2 separate regions of the Homo sapiens genome follow, and region 2 is linked to region 1. The links are contacts of gene promoters, found by promoter capture Hi-C in blood cells and fetal thymus (Javierre and others, 2016). All regions are on one chromosome and are shown on one strand. The core of a region is centred on a gene start or on the middle of the fragment in contact, and the rest is flanking DNA. Distances in the headings are between cores, read along the strand shown. Region 1 holds the start of WASL (WASP like actin nucleation promoting factor). Region 2 has its middle 4.2 kb from the start of TPK1.

Evidence for each region. Contacts are between HindIII fragments. The CHiCAGO score rates a contact against its expected background, and 5 or more counts as called.
Region 2: a contact is called between a fragment that was not itself captured here and the fragment with the promoter of WASL in region 1, in 1 of 17 cell types (monocytes). The highest score is 5.1, in monocytes.

The regions. Positions count from the first base shown.
Region 1 is chr7:123,747,050-123,751,515 of GRCh38, forward strand. WASL (WASP like actin nucleation promoting factor) reads right to left here and starts at 1,954. Exons shown (of 11, transcript NM_003941.4): 1 at 1,569-1,954. The coding sequence starts at 1,685. It overlaps WASL-DT (WASL divergent transcript), which reads left to right and starts at 2,146. Exons shown (of 1, transcript NR_170281.1): 1 at 2,146-3,932. RefSeq lists enhancers at 875-924, 1,684-2,338 and silencers at 1,367-1,456, 1,917-2,236. The HindIII fragment of the contact is 6,394 bases long and covers 1-4,466 here.
Region 2 is chr7:144,838,008-144,842,473 of GRCh38, forward strand. No RefSeq gene overlaps it. Among named protein-coding and RNA genes, the nearest start is that of TPK1, 4.2 kb to the left of the region's middle. The HindIII fragment of the contact is 5,943 bases long and covers 1-4,466 here.

The DNA of each region.
Region 1 (4,466 bases), core at 704-3,203:
GTTTTTGGTGAAAAAGGCAAAGTGGTTATTTCTTTAACACCACTTTTAGAAATAAATCAGTAACAGGAAAAAAAAATACCCTTCTAAAACAACATGATGTAGTGCAAAGTACAATGGGATAGGACTAGGTGTGAGGAGTCCTGGTTTTCTAGTTCTGGTTACATTATTAAATTGCTGTATGACTTGGGCTCACTGGATCAGTTTTCTCATTTGTTGAAAAAAGTGTGTGTGAATGGGGAGGGGCTTAAAGTTGTTACCCAAAATTCTCGTTTTGAGCCACTCCTCTTGTTTCATCCTTCTAATCAGGAAACTCAATGTTCTCTAAGGTCTAAATTCCGAAATATGAAACACATCTGAAATTGAATGGAACGATTCAATCTCCAACCGGATGGCACAAGATACAAAGGGTGGACTCCTATGAAGTTAACAATGAATCCAATAACTTTCCAGAAATTGTCTAATCCTAACTTCTTAAAGAAGCAGGTGAAATCTGGTTTGGCATACCTAATATTACTTAAAGGAGTTATAAAATGGTATTGCTTTGTTGAAATTTCCGTGTTTTCTGGGTTCCAGTGGCACATACTCTGCAGGTGCTAGCAAAGTGGAGAGAAAGGGATCCAGCCAGTATTTCAACAAACCACACTTCAACCCAGTCACCGCAGTATGATCCCGACAAGGCCTACACCACAGAGCAGAACCTCCCCACCCCCAGAATTGCCAGCAGCCAATGTAATGAATGCTTCCGTCAACAACACACATTCCCCTTCCCACAGCAGAACTGCTCGCTCCCAACCGGCCATCTGGGGTTGGAATTGGCCGCACAGCACCAAACTAAGAATCATTCTCGGCCCCAAAAGCCAAGAGCTACCAGAGATTGAGGTTTCCCTGCGCATGGCTGCGGGGAGAGCAGCACCCCCTCCCACCAATGGGGGGAAAAAAAAAATCAGTGGGAAGGAGAGTAGAAACCAGGCCTAGGCAAGGTTGCTAGAGAAATAAATCTTGTTTCTCTTTAACGAAGAGCAATAACATTTCTTGCACCCTCTCTAATCCGAAGAGAGCCCAGGCTCTTGCACTCGACTTCATTCCCTCCTGGAATCCTAATGGGAGATTAAAAACCACCTTCCTTCCCCGACCTATCCACTCCTCAAACCTGGCATTGTTAAGGAACGTACCCCCAGATCAAGCAGTAAGAGGTGAAGCGAGAGCTAGAACAAGGGCCCAGATTCTAGGACCAAGCGGCTCTTGCAAGAAAATCCCCTTGTGGCCTGAGAATAAAGTTTTAACCAGCAGCAAGGGCGCGGGCCGAGGCCCGGCCAGGCTGGAGGACAGGCCTGCGGAGGTGACACTCCCTTATTCTCCAGCAGCTCGGGAAGGCGGCGCCCGACCGCCACGGCCCGCACCCTGGGAGCAGGGCGAGGGCGCCGACGAGGGGCCGGGGCCGGGGCCGGGGCTGGCGGGAGGCCTGGCCCGCGCCGCTCCCGCCTCCTTCCCCACTCCCACTTCCCGGCCCCCAAGCCCGGGCCCGTGAGGTAATGTCACGGGTGGCGACGCGGGTCTCGTCCACTGACCACACATTTCTTGCCGAGGAAAGTGAAGAGGGACTCGTTCTCCTGCGGGGTGAGCAACAGGGACCCCACGTTGGTGACCCTCCGCGGCGGCGGCGGCTGCTGCTGGACGGAGCTCATGGTTTCGCCGGCGGGGTTGGGAGTCCAGGGCCGTCTCCTCCGGCGAGTGGGCGAGAGCTCGTTCCCCCTCTCGGTGACAGGGGCGGGGAGAAGTGGAGTCAGAGGCGCCACATCTCGCAGCTCCTCCGGAGCGGGGAGGAGGACGAGGTCGAGGGAAGCAGGCGCTGACGGCGAGCCACCTTCGCGCCGCGCTGAGAAAGGGAAGCTCCCGGCACCCGCCCGGCCAGGCTAGGGCCGGATGGTCGTTGTCCTCGCACTCCGGCGACTGCGCTAAACTCCCAACTCCTCCCCCAACCCTCCCGCAGCGGCGGCGGCGGCCGCACAATCCAACATGGCAGCGGGGGCGGGCGAGACCACAGGACGGAGGGCGCGGGGGAGCGCGCCGGAAACGCGCGGCTGCGGCCCGGGAGAAACCCCCCCACTCGGCGGCGGGCCTCGCGGCGCGGGCCCGAAGCCACGCCCCCTTCCGGCCGAGGCGCGGACCGCGCGGAGCTAAGTGGAATCCCGGTTGGCTTGGGGCGCAGGCTTCCAACTTCGTACTCTGGCCTCTGGCGTCTCGGCTCGTCGGTTGGGTACCCGAACCCAGCTACTGCTGCTTGAAGAGAAGATGGATGGGGACTCCTCGCCGTCGCTGCGCCGCCGGCCTTCCCTGGGCGGACGTACACCTTTGCGAAGCGTCAGTGAGGACCCAGGGCCCCTCCTTGGAATAGCTCTTATTTCTCAAGCGCTGCAGCGTGAAGCTCGCTCTGCGGGTCCGAGAGGCCTGCGATCTGAAGACTGAAAACTGGGAAGAGACGCTCTACCCTGTGCTCCTCGCCGGCTTCGATAGGAGCCGCAGGTGCCTGGGATTTTCTCAAACTTTGTCCCAAACTTCAGCTGTGGGAGTGGAGGAACAAACAGGCCTCTCCCAGAATTGTGAAAGAGATCGCCCTGGTGGATGAAACAAAAACAAATGCACTTGACTTCCACCGCCTGCCTGGCGTGTCACGCGGGTTTAATGTATGTGTCACATTTAAATTCAAAGTATTTTCTTCTAAGGGCCTGGACACATTTCTTTTCTCCCTGTATCGTGAATTGGAAAATACCTTAGGATATTAAAAGTTATCTAAGATAACCCCCTTTCTTCTGTAAGTTAAATACTAAACGGCTTAAGACGAAATTTTGGAATATAGAGATGATGATGCAGACTGCAGTGAATTATCAAATATGCATCTCACTGTTCTCCACATTAAACATATTTTTGTTGCGTAAATTCATGTTAAGACGTCTATAACAATTACACTTTGGTAAAATTGTTGGATGTTAACATCTCTGATAGCTCCCAATAGAAATCTCTGATGTACTAACCAGACTGGTAAACCATTATCATGCACTTTGAAAATATAATAAAATATTATAATTAAAGCTGCCATTAATGAAATAGGCTGAGCAACAATAAATTTACAAAGGAAAATAAAAGTGGATAGCCTTGGGAGTTCTCACATAAAATATGGAGATTTCAAAGTTAAACTTGATTAATTATGTTAGGGTAAAAAGTGAATTAAAGCAACAGGACTATTTATAAAATAATTAGATTTAGAAAGCAGTCGTAGAAATATAAGCCTGGAGTTGCCTCTGAATTACATATTTAACAAACCTAGAAGCTAAATCAGTTTGTCTTTTATCAAAACTGCAACTCCTCTAAGTTGAAAGCACAGTGACAAGAGAAAGCATTACAAATTCTTGAGAAATAATAGAAATTAAAGCTCTTTTCAAACCTGTGAACAAGTATAGTACCAGAAGTATAAGATTCAGATAGGCCCAAGTTGTAGTTCTTGTTATGAGTCTTACAACCCTATGGACTTTGGACAAATTACTTCTCTGCGTCTGTTTCCTCATCTGTAAAATGAAAATAATTTCTGTTTCATACAGGTATAGTCTAAATAGGGATAATTACACCTACTTCAAAGTTGTAAAATACACAATTACAACTAGATAGGAGGTATAAGTTCTAGTGTTCTGTAGCACTGTAGGATGACTATAGTTAACAATATTGTATAGTTTCAAATAGCTAGAAGAAGGATATTGCATGTTCCCAAAACAAAGACATAAGTTTTTGAGATGATAGATATGCTAATTACCCTAATCACTATATGTTATATGTATTGCAACATCACTATGTACCCCCATAAATATGTACAGTTATTGTGTATTAAAATTTTTTTAAACTAAAATTATAAGACATTAAAAAAAGGTATCACATGTAAAGTACCTGATACATAGTGGTTACTCAAGTATTAGTTGTCGGCCATTGACAGTCCTTGCCTATGGTCTTTTCTGCTTTCCCTGAGCTAAGGGATCAAGACTTAATATATGTATTCTTACCTTTGTTCTAATTCTGACTCTTCAAAAACTGTCCTTCAAATATACAATTGTACATATTTTTTCAAAAATATAGTGAAGAACTTGATAGCAGAATTTCTGATTAGGCCATATATTATATCAAATAGGCTACATATATCCCAGTATGCCAAAATAAAACTTTTTAAAACTGTAAATCCAGAGATAGAATCCTATTAGCTTCTAATTTAATAAAAACTGAAAGATTAGCAAATTTTATGTTAGAAATACCAGCTTTTAGAACTTGTAGACCACCAAACTATTTTGAAGACAGGAAAGAGTAGTGGGAGAGGGCTGTGAAAAAAAAAAAAAAGGCCATGAGATGATAGGTGAATGGACAGTAGCTGCGTTCAAGAATTTATCTCATTCTGAGAATTATTGAGTTCCAATCATTTCACAACC
Region 2 (4,466 bases), core at 640-3,139, about 21 Mb after region 1:
ATGGAGAATTATGGTACTTCATACCAGGAATTACAGGCATACCTCCTTTTATTGTGTTTAGCTTTATTGTGCTTTACAGATACCGCTTTTACAAATTGAAAGTTTGTGGCAAGCCTGCATCAAGCAGGTCTATCTGCAACATTTTTCCGAAAGCGTGTACCTGCTTCGTGTCTCTGCGTCATATTTTGGTAATTTTCACAATACTTCAAATATTTCCATTAATATATTCATTACAATCTGTGATTAGTGATTCTTAATGTTACTCTTGTCATTGTTTTGGGGTGCCACCAGCCATGCCCTTATAAGACGGCAAACTTAATAGATCAATGTTGTGTGTTTCTTACTGCCCCGGGACCAGTACATTCTCCTGTTTCTCTCTCCCCGTGGGCCTCCCTATTCCCTAAGACACGACAGTATTGAAATTAGGCCATTTTATATTCCTACAATGGCCTCTAAGTGTTTAAGTGAAAGGAAGAACTGCATGTGTCTCACTTTAAATCAAAAGCTAGAAATGATCAAGATTAGTGAGAAAGTTTTGTCAAAAGAAAGCTAGGCTTTTTGTATCAGTTAGCCAAGTTGTGAATGCAAAGCAAAAGTTCTTTAAGAAAACTGAAAGTGCTACTCCACTAAACACATGAATGATAAGAAAGATAAACAGCCTTATTGCTATGAAGAAAGTTTGAGTGGTCCGTGTAGAAGATCCAGTTAGCCACAACATTTCCTTGAACCAAAGCCAGATCCAGAGCAAGGCCCTGATTCTGAATTATCTTAAAGTCTGGGAGAAATGAGTAAACTGCAGAAGAAAAGTTTGAAGATAGCAGAGGTTCATGTGGTTTAAGGAAAGAAGCCATCTCCGTAACATAAAAGAGCAAGGTGAAGTTGCAAGTACTGATGAAGAAGCTGTAGCAAGTTGACCAGAAAATCTAGCTAAGATCATTGATGAAGGTGGCCATTTTTCATGGAGATGAAACAACCTTCTATTGGAAGAAGATGACATCTAAGACTTTGATAGCTAGAGAGGAAAAGTCAATACTTGGCTTCAAAGTTTCAAAGGCCAGGCTGACTCACTTGTTAAGGCCTAATGTAGCTGGTGGTTGTCAGTTGGAGCCAGTGCTTGTTTACCATTTTGAAAATCCTAGGGCCCTTAAGAATTATGCTAAATCTGGCCAGGCACGGTGGCTCATGCAGATCACGAGGTCAGGAGTTCGAGACCAGCCTGACCAACATGATGAACCCTTGTCTCTACTAAAAATACAAAAATTAGCTGGGCATAGTGGCAGGTGCCTGTAATCTCAGCTACTCAGGAGGCTGAGGCAGGAGAATCGCTTCAACCTGGGAGGTGGAGGTTTCAGTGAGCTGAAATTGGGCCTGCACTCCAGCCTGGGTGACAGAGAGAGACTCCGTCTCAAAAAAAAAAAAAAAAAAAAAAAAAGAATTATTCTAAATCTACTCTGCCTGTATCTAGAAATGGAACAACGAAGCCTGAATGGCAACACATCTGTTTACAACATGGTTTACTGAATATTTTAAACCCACTATTTTACTGCTCAGAAAAAAAAAATCCTTTACAAATATTACTGTTCATTAATAGTGCACCTGGTCACCCAAAAACTCTGATGGAGATTAATGATTTCATGCCTGCTAACACATCCATTCTGCAGACCATGGATCAAGGAGTGATTTCTACTTTCAAGTCTTATCATTTAAAAAACACATTTTGTAATGCTGTGGTGCCATAGATAGTGATTCCTCTGATGGATCTGGGTACAGTACATTGGAAACCTTCTAGAAAGAATTTGCCATTCTAGATACCATTAAGAACATTCATGATTCATGGGAGGAGGTCAAAATATCCAAATTAATAGAAGTTTGGAAGAAGTTGATTCCAATCCTCATGGCTGACTTTGAGAGGCTCAAGACTTCAGTAGAGGAAATAACTGCAGATGTGGTAGAAATAGCAAGAGAACTAGAATTAGAAGTGGCGCCTGAAGATGGAACTGAATTGCTGCAATCTCATGATCTTTGCTCACGGCAACCTCTGCCTCTTAGGTTCCAGTGATTCTCATGCCTCAGCCTCCTGAGTAGCTGGGACTACAGATGTGTGCCAACATGCCTGGCTAACTTTTGTAATTTTAGTAGAGATGGGGTTTCACCATGTTGGCCAGGCTGGTCTCAAACTCCTGGCCTCAAGAAATCCACCCATGCCTCCCAAAGTGGTGAGATTACAGGTGTGAGCCACCACACCTGGCCAATATACCATATATTTTGAACACCACCAGTACAAGAAAATGAGGGTAGAGCCACAGAATATTTGGTGAGGAAGACAGAAGAGCCTTCTTTGTATCCTGGAGAAAACTATGTAACTTACTACTTGGAGTTCCTTCCTACTTTGTGGAGTCATACTGTGGACCTGTTTACCATCAGTATTAACCTTTTTGGGATCATAGAATCAATTGAAAATTTGTTTGAAGATTTGGAACCTCTCCCCTGAAAATTGTTCCATGTATGTATGTATGCATGCATGCTTATATTTATTCTGCTTTCCTTGGAAGCCCCAAATATACTAAAGGTTAACAATAATTGCTCATTAAATTTCTTTTAATATACATTTTTATAAACATCTTAAACTTCTTTAATATACTTATTGAAAAAATATGTATTAATGTAATAAAAAAAGTACATAAAATAAAAATTGATATCACTCTCACCCTACTGGCTCCTACCTACTACACCCCTTTTTCTCAGAGGTCATTTTAACAATTCAGTTTCTATGACTTTCCAAATCCATTTTCTATGAATCATCAAAAACAGAAGTGAGACTATTCTACCATTTACATTTACAAAATTTACTCTGTTGTGGACATTTTTCCACATGATGCCATATTTATCTAGCTCATTCTTTTTAATACAGCCATGACTTGGAAATACTGTGGGTTTGATTCCAGATACCACAATTAAGTAAGCTGCACAAATTTTGGGGTTTCCTAGTGCATATAAAAATTACCTTAGGGCGGCCGGGCATGGTGGCTCACACCTGAAATCCCAGCATTTTGGGAGGCTGAGGCAGGTGGATCACAAGGTCAGGAGATCGAGACCATCCTGGCTAACAAAGTGAAACTCCGTCTCTACTAAAAATACAAAAAATTAGCCGGGCACGGTGGCAAGCGCCTGTAGTCCCAGCTACTCAAGAGGCTGAGGCAGGAGAATGGCGTGAACCCGGGAGGCGGAGCTTGCAGTGAGCCGAGATTGCACCACTGCACTCCAGCCTGGGCGACAGAGCGAGATTCCGTCTCAAAAAATAAAAAAATTATTTTAGGGCTGGGCGCGGTGGCTCACGTCTGTAATCCCAGCACCGTGGGAGGCCGAGGAGGGCGGATCATGAGGTCAGGAGTTCAAGACCAGTCTGGCCAACATAGTGAAACCCTGTCTCTACTAAAAATACAAAAAATTAGATGGGTGTGGTGGTGTGCACCTGTAATCCCAGCTACTCGGTAGGCTGAGGCAGGAGAATCACAGTACCTTAACACTATCCTGTAGTTGCCCAGGCTAGAGTGCAGTGGCACAATCTTGGCTCACTGCAACCACTGCTGTCCAGGCTCAAGTGATCCTCCCACCTCAGCCTCCTGAGTAGCTGGGACTACAGGTGTGCACTACCACACCCAGATCATTTTTGTATTTTTTGTAGAGACAGGGTTTCGCCATGTTGCCCAGCTGGCCTCAGATCGTGAGCTCAAGCACTCCACCCACCTGGGTACTGTAATCCCAAAGTGCTGGGATTACAGGCATGGGCCACTGCGCCTAGCCCAAGCAGCTTCTTTACTTGCGTTCCTCAGAAGATGTTTAAAAGTGAATAATGTGTTATAAACCCCAAATGATATTGGTGATAGTGTGCAGTATTTTCAAAACTTATTTCACTGCAAAGCACTTTTATTATAGCATTGTTTGGAATAATATTATATTTTTTTTTAATTTTTTTTTTTTTAATGACAGGGTCTCCAGGCTGGAGTGCAGTGGCGTGATCTTGACAATTAAGGAGATGGCTTTATTCAGGCTATTGCAATAAGCAGAACACCCTAGGCCCTAATGTCAGAGTGTCTTGGCAGTGTGATTTTCCTTTAGATCTTTTTGTTTGTTTGTTTGTTTTTAGCATAGAAACGGCATCTCACTCTGCCTCCCAGGCTGGTCTGCGGTGGCATGATCCGAGTTCACTGCAGCCTCAAATTCCTGGGCTCAAGCCATCTTCCTGCCTCAGCCTCCTGAGTAGCTCGAATTATAGGTGCATGCCACCACACCTGGCTCTTTTTTTTTTTTGTAGAGACAGGGCCTTGCTATGTTGGCCAGGCTCCTCTTGATCTCATGCCCTCAAACAATCCTGTCATCTCCACCTGCCAAAGCACTGAGATTACAGGCATGAGCCACTGTGCCCAGCCCTTCTTAGACTTTTATAGGAAGTAGTAGACGTGGGG